3 separate regions of the Homo sapiens genome follow, and regions 1 and 2 are each linked to region 3. Evidence: promoter capture Hi-C in 16 types of primary human blood cells and fetal thymus (Javierre and others, 2016). All regions are on one chromosome and are shown on one strand. The core of a region is centred on a gene start or on the middle of the fragment in contact, and the rest is flanking DNA. Distances in the headings are between cores, read along the strand shown. Region 1 overlaps CTNNA1 (catenin alpha 1). Region 2 overlaps CTNNA1 (catenin alpha 1). Region 3 holds the start of SNHG4 (small nucleolar RNA host gene 4).

Region 1 (3,396 bases), core at 712-3,211, 430 kb before region 3:
GGGACATACTTCAGAGTTTTGATTGCCTTGGTCCCCCTTTTCATAAACAGGAATTATCTGAAGAGTCTTGTGGAAGAGAATGGATAAAACTGTGATCCTTGAGGCATAAGGAGCAAATTTAGACTGAATTTCTACTAAATTACTGTTAAGAAAAGGACAACAAATTTAGAGCTTTTAAGCTTATAACCGAGTATGATTGCCATGTCCTGGGTACTTGATTGCCATGTCCTGGGTACTTAACAGTTTAGCACTTAAATATTCACATATAGATATAGGGTCAGGGAATGATAGCTAAAGGGTACAGGTTTTTTTTGTTTTTTTGTTTTTTGTTTTTTTGAGACAGATTCTCGCTGTCTGGCCCAGGCTGGAGTGAAGTGGCGCGATCACGGCTCACTGCAACCTCCGCCCCCTAGGTTCAAGCGATTCTCCTGCCTCAGCCTCCCAAGTAGCTGGGATTACAAGCGCCCACCACCACGCCCGGCTAATTTTCATACTTTTAGAGACAGGGTCTAATTTTCATACTTTTAGAGACAGGGTTTCACCATCTTGGCCAGGCTGGTCTTGAACTCCTGGCCTCAGGTGATCCACCCTCCTCGGCCTCTCAAAGTGCTGGGATTACAGGCGCGAGCCACTGCGCCTGGCCCAAGGGTACTGGGTTTCTTTAGGAGATGATAAAATGCTCTAAAATTGACTGTAGTAATGGTTGTACATATCTGTGAATAAACCAAAAAAACATTAAATTGTACACTATCAATGGGTGAATTTTAGGTGACCTATATCAGTATATAATCTGTATCAGTAGATAATTATCTTATATATTTGTAAAATTATTTAAAGATATTTACATGCGTTTCACATGTCAGTTTGCTAATGATGTGATATGTATTTTAAATTATATTTCCTGTAGGAGTTCAGGCAATTTGTTCATCTTACATGAAGTAAAGAGTATTTTTCCCATTTTGAAACACGGCCTGTGTCTGTTATTGCCACCAGAATTACATGGTCTACATTAAATCCTATATTGTGTACACTGTTGACCTCTTTAATCTTCTGACTTTGTATGGGACAAACTAATGGCCTACAATTTTCTGTGACTATTTCATTTAAATTATACAAATGTTGAATGAAGGATTGCTGAATTAAAAATAGTTAAAAAAAAACCCCTCAAATTATACTGAACAGGTGTCATTTCAAGCTGAGTGTTTTTCATTTGGGGGCAGGGTGTCTTCTCTCTGAAAAAGTGTTAGATCTCTACATTATGTACATTGTTAGCCCTTAAAGATTTTTGAATGGTTTGGATTATTAGAAGATTCTGCATATAATCACCTAGAATTTGATTATACAGCTCTGAGAACTATGAAAAGGAACTAATTTTTCTATTAATTACATGTTTGGATTATTATTTGCAGTCAGAGCTTTGGGGTTGGGTATTTTGGTTGAAATATTGGCACTCTTAAATACATGGTAGTATCTGAAAGCTTTGTTCTAGGCCCACTTGAAGGAATTGCAAAAAAAGATGTAGCAGAAGTTTTAAGTGAAGTGGTTTGTTTTAGCAACATTAACTTATTTACTTAAAAATAGGTTTTTACTTTTTTGCTTCTATTGGGTAGTACTTGTAGTTCAACAGCATGGATTTTCACCTTTTGGAGGGAAGAGGAGACTGACAACATTCCTTTTTAAAGCCGGCGTAGTCCCTCCCTCCCTGTCTCCTTCCCTGTCTCCCTCCCTCTGTTTTTTTAGAGATAGGGGTCTGGTTACATTGTCCAAGCTGGTCTCGAACTACTGGGCTCAAGTGATCCTCCTGCCTCAGCCTCCCAGAGTGCTGAGATTAGAGGCATGAGTGGCAGGCCGATGTCATAATTTCTTAGTCAAAGTATTAGTTGAAGAATTCAAATATAATGTCCCCTGTCCACTTTTTATTGTTGCTTTATTCGGGGGATATTTACTTTCCTTTTGAAAAGAAAATTCTTGAAGAGAAACCTGATGGTGGGATTTCAGGCACTGTGGCAGGAAGTAAGAAAGATGTGTTACGGTAGAGGTGGTCACCCTTAGATCAGTGTGGGCAGTTGCTTGTGGGGCATATTTTGGGGGAGGGGCATTTCTCTCTAAATTGATGTACTAGGAGATAGAGCATATTTTTGCTGCCCCAAGTAAACTTTTGATGCATTACAAAAAGGAAACATTTGGGCAACTCCCATTTCTGTTGCTTTGGAGCTTAATAGTCATTAAGTTTGTGTTTCTTTATGTGGTACTGAGTAAAAGCTGAAAGTAGCAGAGATTGTATAGGCCAGTATATCTTTTGTTAGTTTTGAACTTGTTGGGAGCACTTATAATTACCTGTGTTTCTAGAGATAAATCAAGTGGCACCTCTGTTTCTTTAAGTTCTTCTTTACCTAGCTGAGATTCAGGGGTCTTGCTTCTTGGGTAATAAATTCTACCTAATTTGAAGCTTTGCTTTCCTTCCAGAGATGTTTGAACTACATTTACTAATGCATATATGCTGTTGGCATAAAGATAAATTTGTTATTGAAGGGATTTTCTATGGAGAGACTGTTCTAGTCTTGACAGCTGCACTGAGCATGAAAAGTTACCTAAGCTTTCCCAAGTCTATGTTTCCTCAACTGGGAACTGGGGATGATAATGGTGCCTATGCACCCATCATGGTTGCAAGTGTATAGAAAAGAGTCATGTAAGGCACAACCACTGCTGTTAATACTAGTGTTACTATTAACATTGCTATAACTAATAATTTATATTTGAATTGTTCACACTTTAAGTCCTCTTTTTTTTGTTTGTTTGTTTTTTTAGCTCTTCTGATTTCCAGTAGTTTCATAGAGCCATTGCATTTATCATTCTCCTCCAAGAGCTTAGTTCTCTCTCTGCTCCCCCTTTTCTTCTCTCTTCTTTTACAGTCATGGTCAAATACATTTGGAGAATTTTCCCTTTTACATGTGTATTCTGATAATAATGTCTAAAGACTGTGTCCCTGTTGACTGTGCTGCATAGCTTATTTTATTGCTCTCCATTTGTCTTAACTGTCTTGCCTGAAGTTGGTAGCTTTATTCCTAGATTCATAATATGCTCTCTTTACTATTAAAATGTGCATTTTGATTGGGCCTGGCATACTTTTTTTTGAGATAGAGTCTCTCTCTGTCGCCCAGGCTGGAGTGCAGTGGCGTGAGCTTGGTTCACTGCAACCTCCACTTCCTGGGTTCAAGTGATTTCCTGCCTCAGCCTCCTGAGTAGCTGGGATTACAGGTATGCACCATCATACCCAGCTAATTTTTGTATTTTTAGTAGAGACAAGGTTTCACCATGTTGGTCAGACTGGTCTCGAACTCCTGACCTCATGATATGCCTGCCTCGGCCTCCCAAATTGCTGGGATTACAGGCGTG
Region 2 (3,078 bases), core at 225-2,724, 340 kb before region 3:
GGGCCTCCACCCTGCCGTTTGGGGTGAGGGGATCCTTGGCCAGGGTGGTTTCCCCGCCGTCATAGGAGGGAAGTCAGTGGGAGGCTCAGAAGGCCTTGGCTATACAACCAGTGCCATGCGGCGCAGTCAGGGTCCCATGGACGACTTCCATCAGCTCACCCGCCTCCATCCCCAAGCAGAGTGTAGGCAAGGGCTGTGACTGCCTCAGGTAATTGGGTGATTTTGCTCCAGCAAGAGGAGAGGAAGCATGTGAGTGCCACACTGAACCTTTCAGAAACAGCCGTGGGGTCGGGGGTGCTTGGGCCAGGCCAGGATACTTGGTGTTAAGCCTGCTCTCTCTTCAGTGCCCCGACTCGGCTTGCAAGCAGGACCTGCTGGCCTACCTGCAACGCATCGCCCTCTACTGCCACCAGCTGAACATCTGCAGCAAGGTCAAGGCCGAGGTGCAGAATCTCGGCGGGGAGCTTGTTGTCTCTGGGGTAAGCATTAGCTGAACAAAAAGAGGGCCAGTGGGAACGTGCTGACCCTTGTCAGAAATGAAAGTCACCTCCTATCCGCATAAACACCTGCCCTGGGAAAGTGTGCTGTGCAGAAACTCCAAGTCCTGTCCCAGTCTCTGGAGACCAAGGTCTGTCCATCATCTGTTCCCTGTAGAACTGTGACACCTGCGGGGCACTGCAAGGGCTGAAAGGCTGGCCTCCTCCCCTTTGCTGGCCACTCACTGGGTAGGAATTTTTAAAAATCTTCCTTGGGACCGGGCGTGGTGGCAGGTACCTGTAAGTCCCAGCTACTTGGGAGGCTGAGACACAATAATTACTTGAGCCTGGGAGATGGAGGTTGCAGTGAGCCGAGATGGCACCACTGCACTCCCGTCTGGGCAACAGAACAAGACTGTCTCAAAACAAAACGAAACAACAAAACAAAACAAAACTTCCTTTTCTTCCCCCAGAGAGGAATTAAGAGTAGACATAGATAGGGTGTTTTCTCAAAAGCCCTTCACTCCTCAGAGTGCTTGGGTAGCGTCTCTTTCTTTTTACCACATCACAGTTCTGAGGCCTTTCTCACCTAGGGCAGGGGAAAGAAGAGGTTTGCTGAGTGGATTGGGGTCCACCGAGCCTCCATGGCTTCTCTTAATCCCACTGAATTTCCTTTAAAAGAAACACTTCTTATATTGAACATATTGAGACCATTTGCTCATCTGCTTTGCCATAAACATCCCTGTCTCGATTCCTGCTTCTCCTCCCCCACGTGCTTACAGCTCTGGGATCACTTACAGTGACTTCCAGTTGGTTTGAGTGAATAAACACTTGCTGAGGGGTGGGGGTGAGCAAGGCGAGGTTGCCTCATGTCTTCTCCAAAGGGTCTGAGGGCAGGCGCTTCCAGGCTATTTAGATAAGAGCAGCCGTTGAGGGTGTTCTTCAGGAACAGGCTGCTGCCCAATCCTCTGCGACCTGCCCAGGCCCTGGTCTTGCAGAGGAGTAGGGGGCTCCCCTTCAAGCACAGCCCACCTGTGTCCACGAGGCTGGAGGTCAGGCCGGTGCTTCTTACCACCCCTGTCTGCCTCGTAGGTGGACAGCGCCATGTCCCTGATCCAGGCAGCCAAGAACTTGATGAATGCTGTGGTGCAGACAGTGAAGGCATCCTACGTCGCCTCTACCAAATACCAAAAGTCACAGGGTATGGCTTCCCTCAACCTTCCTGCTGTGTCATGGAAGATGAAGGCACCAGAGAAAAAGCCATTGGTGAAGAGAGAGAAACAGGATGAGACACAGACCAAGATTAAACGGGCATCTCAGAAGAAGCACGTGAACCCGGTGCAGGCCCTCAGCGAGTTCAAAGCTATGGACAGCATCTAAGTCTGCCCAGGCCGGCCGCCCCCACCCCTCGGGGCTCCTGAATATCAGTCACTGTTCGTCACTCAAATGAATTTGCTAAATACAACACTGATACTAGATTCCACAGGGAAATGGGCAGACTGAACCAGTCCAGGTGGTGAATTTTCCAAGAACATAGTTTAAGTTGATTAAAAATGCTTTTAGAATGCAGGAGCCTACTTCTAGCTGTATTTTTTGTATGCTTAAATAAAAATAAAAATTCATAACCAAAGAGAATCCCACATTAGCTTGTTAGTAATGCTCTGACCAAGCCGAGATGCCCATTCTCTTAGTGATGGCGGCGTTAGGGTTTGAGAGAAGGGAATTTGGCTCAACTTCAGTTGAGAGGGTGCAGTCCAGACAGCTTGACTGCTTTTAAATGACCAAAGATGACCTGTGGTAAGCAACCTGGGCATCTTAGGAAGCAGTCCCTGGAGAAGGCATGTTCCCAGAAAGGTCTCTGGAGGGACAAACTCACTCAGTAAAACATAATGTATCATGAAGAAAACTGATTCTCTATGACATGAAATGAAAATTTTAATGCATTGTTATAATTACTAATGTACGCTGCTGCAGGACATTAATAAAGTTGCTTTTTTAGGCTACAGTGTCTCGATGCCATAATCAGAACACACTTTTTTTCCTCTTTCTCCCAGCTTCAAATGCAAATTCATCATTGGGCTCACTTCTAATAACTGCAGTGTTTCCCGCCTTGGGCTTGCAGCAGAAAAACCTGACAACATAGTGTTTGCTAAGGCAGTAATTTAGACTTTACCTTATTTGTGATTACTGTAGTGATTGATTGATTGATTACTATTAACTACAAGGTATAATTTACTATCACCTTATTTAAATTTTATGAATTAATTTGAATGTTTTTTACACTAACTAACTTTTCCCAATAAAGTCCACTATGAAACCACGACATCCAAGAGCCCAAAGTCGTCTTCTCTGCCTTCAAGTCATAGATTTGCCCGCAGTATCTGTGGTGCTCTGGGCCCTCCCGGTGTCCGTCTCTTCCAGGATGGGGATGCCCGGGAGGGAAACTGTCTGTGGCTCTAGGCTGCACGGCTCGTGCCAACCCATCAGGGAGGGCCATGCCCGTTGTCCTATTGAGTGCCCCACCCTGCACCCCCACCTTGGGAATTCACATGTCCATTCCTTGAGGTTCATGTCAACCTCGGAGGCATCCCTGTCTTCATTA
Region 3 (3,396 bases), core at 659-3,158:
GAAGAAACAAAAAAGTAGAAAAATAGTTGATATTACAGGTAAAAAAAACATAAATCAACCCATCAAAATTAATTCAGAATTTAAAAGGATGGAAGTCAAAAAGGTTGACTATGAAGGATTTTTAAGTTGGAAACAAAATCTTCATCTAGGTTTTTCTCCAAAGGTCATTGAAAGACCTATAGCCCAAAAAGTTGACCACTTGTTCAACAGGACATGAAAATATGGCTTACCTCACAGCCTTATTTATAATGGCTGGCCTTCCACATAAATCCTGCCTTCTACCTGGACTAATCTGAATCCAGTCATCACCAGATTATTGGTCCCTCTCTCCCCAAAGGTCTGCATAGCTCCCTGTCCTCAGTTACTTCTTGTCTCTTCTCTGAAAGCACACATGCACATTCACACACACACATACACACACACACACACACACACACACACACCCTATCTTTCCTTTTCATGAATCTTCAGGGTAGCTCTGCCCTCTCCACTTTGTGTGTTTGGAAGGAAAGAAAGCGAAATATATGAGATGCCAATGCAATTTCTCCTTTAGCAGAGCTCGGTAGGACAATTACCCACCCAATCTGCCTGGTTTTATAGCTCTCATAACCTTCCTTTATGAACACGCTGTGACAGCCGGATGTGGGCATTGATTATGGCAGCAGTCTTCAGCCACATTCCTATTTAACTGCAAAGCAGAGCTCCTGCCTACCAGCCCAGCACTGGTCATGTGACTTTTTAAATTACTGTATTTATGTAAGCCTTTTCCCAACCAGAGCCTATGTCCAACTGCATCAAAACTGGGGAGGATTTGAGCTTGCCACTTCCCCTCCAGTGGCTCTTTGGCCCTACAGCCTAGGGTCTCTTGCTGGAATCAAACTGGGGCTCTGGGCTTTCTTAGGAGAGGTCTGCAAGAGTTGGGGTGCACAAGAAGCATACCTTTTTCATTATGAAAGAGCTGAGGAAATAGACAATGAAACATGTTGGCAGATGCCAAGGGCAGTGGCTTGGTTCCCAGGGGTTCACCTGGCAATGGTGCCAGGTGCAAGAGATCAGCAAAACTTACAGGATTGGTTGTTGTTGTTGGGGGGCGGGTGTCGGAAAGGAATTTGGGGGAATTAGAGAATGGAGTTGGGAATCACTGCTTGTAGGCCTTCCACTCTGGACCCCAGCAGAATCATATGGACTCTAGCCACTGGGAGAGGGAAGTTTTAGTGTTCCAAAGAAATCCTGGTAGCCTTGCAGGCAGTCTGTCCTGACCAAGGACTCTGCCTGACTGTGCCATGGTGCAGGGCAAGTCTAGCAGAGAAAGCCAGTGTTCTTCAGTTACTGCAGCTCGGCGAAGAATCCCACTGCAGGGCACTAGGGAGGCCGGTCCTGCAGAGGTCAGCAGTAGGAGTGACTGGCTTAATCTATTCGAAAACCTCCTGGAAAGATCCCGAAGACCGTGGACCAAGGTGACCTGCGTGGGTGAGCGATCCATTAGCCGAATGACAGCGCTGCCGCAGAAAGCCAGAAAAAGGATATGCGTGGGAAGCGCAAAAGCGTGGGCTGGGCCTGCAGCAACGGAAAGGCGCCACGCTCGTGAGCGGAACCAGCGTTCCGGGGGCGCTCAGTGTGGGCAGGCAGGAAGCCTGGCTCCACTAGGACACACAGATTCTCTCCTGAGCAGCTGCGAACTATGCGCCCCTTCTACCCTTAAGAGATGGGATGGGAGTCCAACAAACCCAGCCATTGCTCAGACCCCAGCCCTTCTCTCCTCTAAGAAGCAGGTTCACCTCTGCCACCGCACTCGCATTTTTTTTTTTTTTTAAAGCCCGGCCTTTCCTAGGCGGGGTCAAGGGCCCCGCCCACCGAAGCCACGCCCAGTAGCCGCCCCGGGGCGGGGTTCCCCTCGGCTCCCGGCTGCCCTTTCCCCTCCGGCCTCTGCCGGTGCTGCTGCGCCCTGCGGAGCTCCGAACACGTGCGCGTGAGTAAGGACCCAGAGGGGAGAGTCCTTGGAGGTTTCCCAGCCTGGGGAAAGAAGCAGTGCAGGGTGGCTTCTGCCGGGGCACGGGACGAAATTGGGGTTCGTCCCCTCGTGATCCCGAGCTTGGAGGGCATCTGAAAGAGACTTGGGCCTCGGAGTCGTCCCCTGTTTTTCTACCATCCCTCTTCCCTCTTCTCCCTAGGGAGTCCCATAGAGCCTGACTCCGAGAGCCTCGATCTCCCAGGGCCAGAGGCAGGGACTTTGGAAGGTTTGTGAGGAACAAATGTCCGGTGGAACTGAGTCAGCCCCTTTAACCCGAGCCTTGAAAGGGGCAGGCTATTTTTAGATCTGTTTTTAGACCCAGCGAACAATGAACCCTCTCTACTCATTTTCCTGTTCCTCTAAATTATTTGGAGGAAGTCAGGAGTGAAATTTGGGGATGGCTGGAAAAAGGTATGATCTTAGCCTTACATAAATTATAATGGTGACTGTGAGGCCGGGCGCGTGGCTCACGCCTGTAATCTCAGCACTTTGGGAGGCCGAGGCGGGCGGATGACGAGGTCAAGAGAAGAAGACCATCCTGGCCAACATGGTGAAACCCCGTCTCTACTAAAAATACAAAACTTAGCTGGGCGTGGTGTCGCACGCCTGAAGTCGGGAGGCTGAGGCAGGAGAATCGCTTGAACCCGGGAGGCAGAGATTGCAGTGAGCCGAGATAGCACCACTGCATTCCAACCTGGTAACAGAGCAAGACTCCGTCTAAAAAAAAATGGTGACTGTGTAGGAATATTTATTATCATTTGTGCAAACATTTTGGTTATTTTTATTTTTTTTAACGGAGTCTTGCTCTGTTGCCCAGGCTGGAGTGCAGTAGGGCGATCTCGGCTCACTGCAACCTCCGCCTCCTGGGTTCATGCCATTCTCCTGCCTCAGCATCCCGAGTAACAGGGACTACAGGTGCCCGCCACCACGCCCGGCTAATTTTTTTTTTTTTTTTTTTTTTTTTTTTGTATTTTTAGTAGAGACGGGGTTTCACCGTGTTAGCCAGTATGGTCTCGATCTCCTGAACTCGTGATCCGCCAGCCTCAGCCTCCCAAAGTGCTGGGATTACAGGCGTGAGCCACCGCGCCCGGCCTAACATTTTCGTTATTGCTTTTAATCAGTAGTTGAGGTCTTGGCACGACTACTGCCTCCAATTCCCCTCACATCCAATACTGCAGTTATTTTTCCAAGTGCTGTTTTTATTGTCCTTCAGGAAGTATTGGAGGCCCTCCTCTATCCAGTGTTCCCACTGTTCACTGCCCGTTTCTCTCACTGGATAACTTTTCCCTTTTTACTCACTCATATTCACCATCTAAGCCTTTTTTGGAATGTAGCTCCTCAGGTGTTTACTGAGTGCCCACACTATACCAGACATTATCCTGAGG

Evidence for each region. Contacts are between HindIII fragments. The CHiCAGO score rates a contact against its expected background, and 5 or more counts as called.
Region 1: a fragment that was not itself captured here is called in contact with the fragment with the promoter of SNHG4 in region 3 in 2 of 17 cell types (endothelial precursors and megakaryocytes); the score reaches 5.8 in endothelial precursors.
Region 2: a fragment that was not itself captured here is called in contact with the fragment with the promoter of SNHG4 in region 3 in 1 of 17 cell types (endothelial precursors); the score reaches 5.7 in endothelial precursors.

What each region holds. Positions count from the first base shown.
Region 1 is chr5:138,845,609-138,849,004 of GRCh38, forward strand. The region is part of intron 7 of CTNNA1 (catenin alpha 1); the gene reads left to right. Among named protein-coding and RNA genes, the nearest start is that of LRRTM2, 28 kb to the right of the region's middle. The HindIII fragment of the contact is 971 bases long and covers 1,477-2,447 here.
Region 2 is chr5:138,932,234-138,935,311 of GRCh38, forward strand. CTNNA1 (catenin alpha 1) reads left to right here. Exons shown (of 18, transcript NM_001903.5): 17 at 345-479; 18 at 1,569-2,801. The coding sequence ends at 1,856. Among named protein-coding and RNA genes, the nearest start is that of LRRTM2, 58 kb to the left of the region's middle. The HindIII fragment of the contact is 3,561 bases long and covers 1-3,078 here.
Region 3 is chr5:139,272,193-139,275,588 of GRCh38, forward strand. It overlaps SNHG4 (small nucleolar RNA host gene 4), which reads left to right and starts at 1,909. Exons shown (of 7, transcript NR_182757.1): 1 at 1,909-1,969; 2 at 2,172-2,422. LOC124901081 (a long non-coding RNA gene) reads right to left here. Exons shown (of 4, transcript XR_007058956.1): 4 at 875-1,462. It also overlaps a transcript of MATR3 not described here. RefSeq lists an enhancer at 1,263-1,612 and a silencer at 1,903-1,982. The HindIII fragment of the contact is 4,492 bases long and covers 1-3,396 here.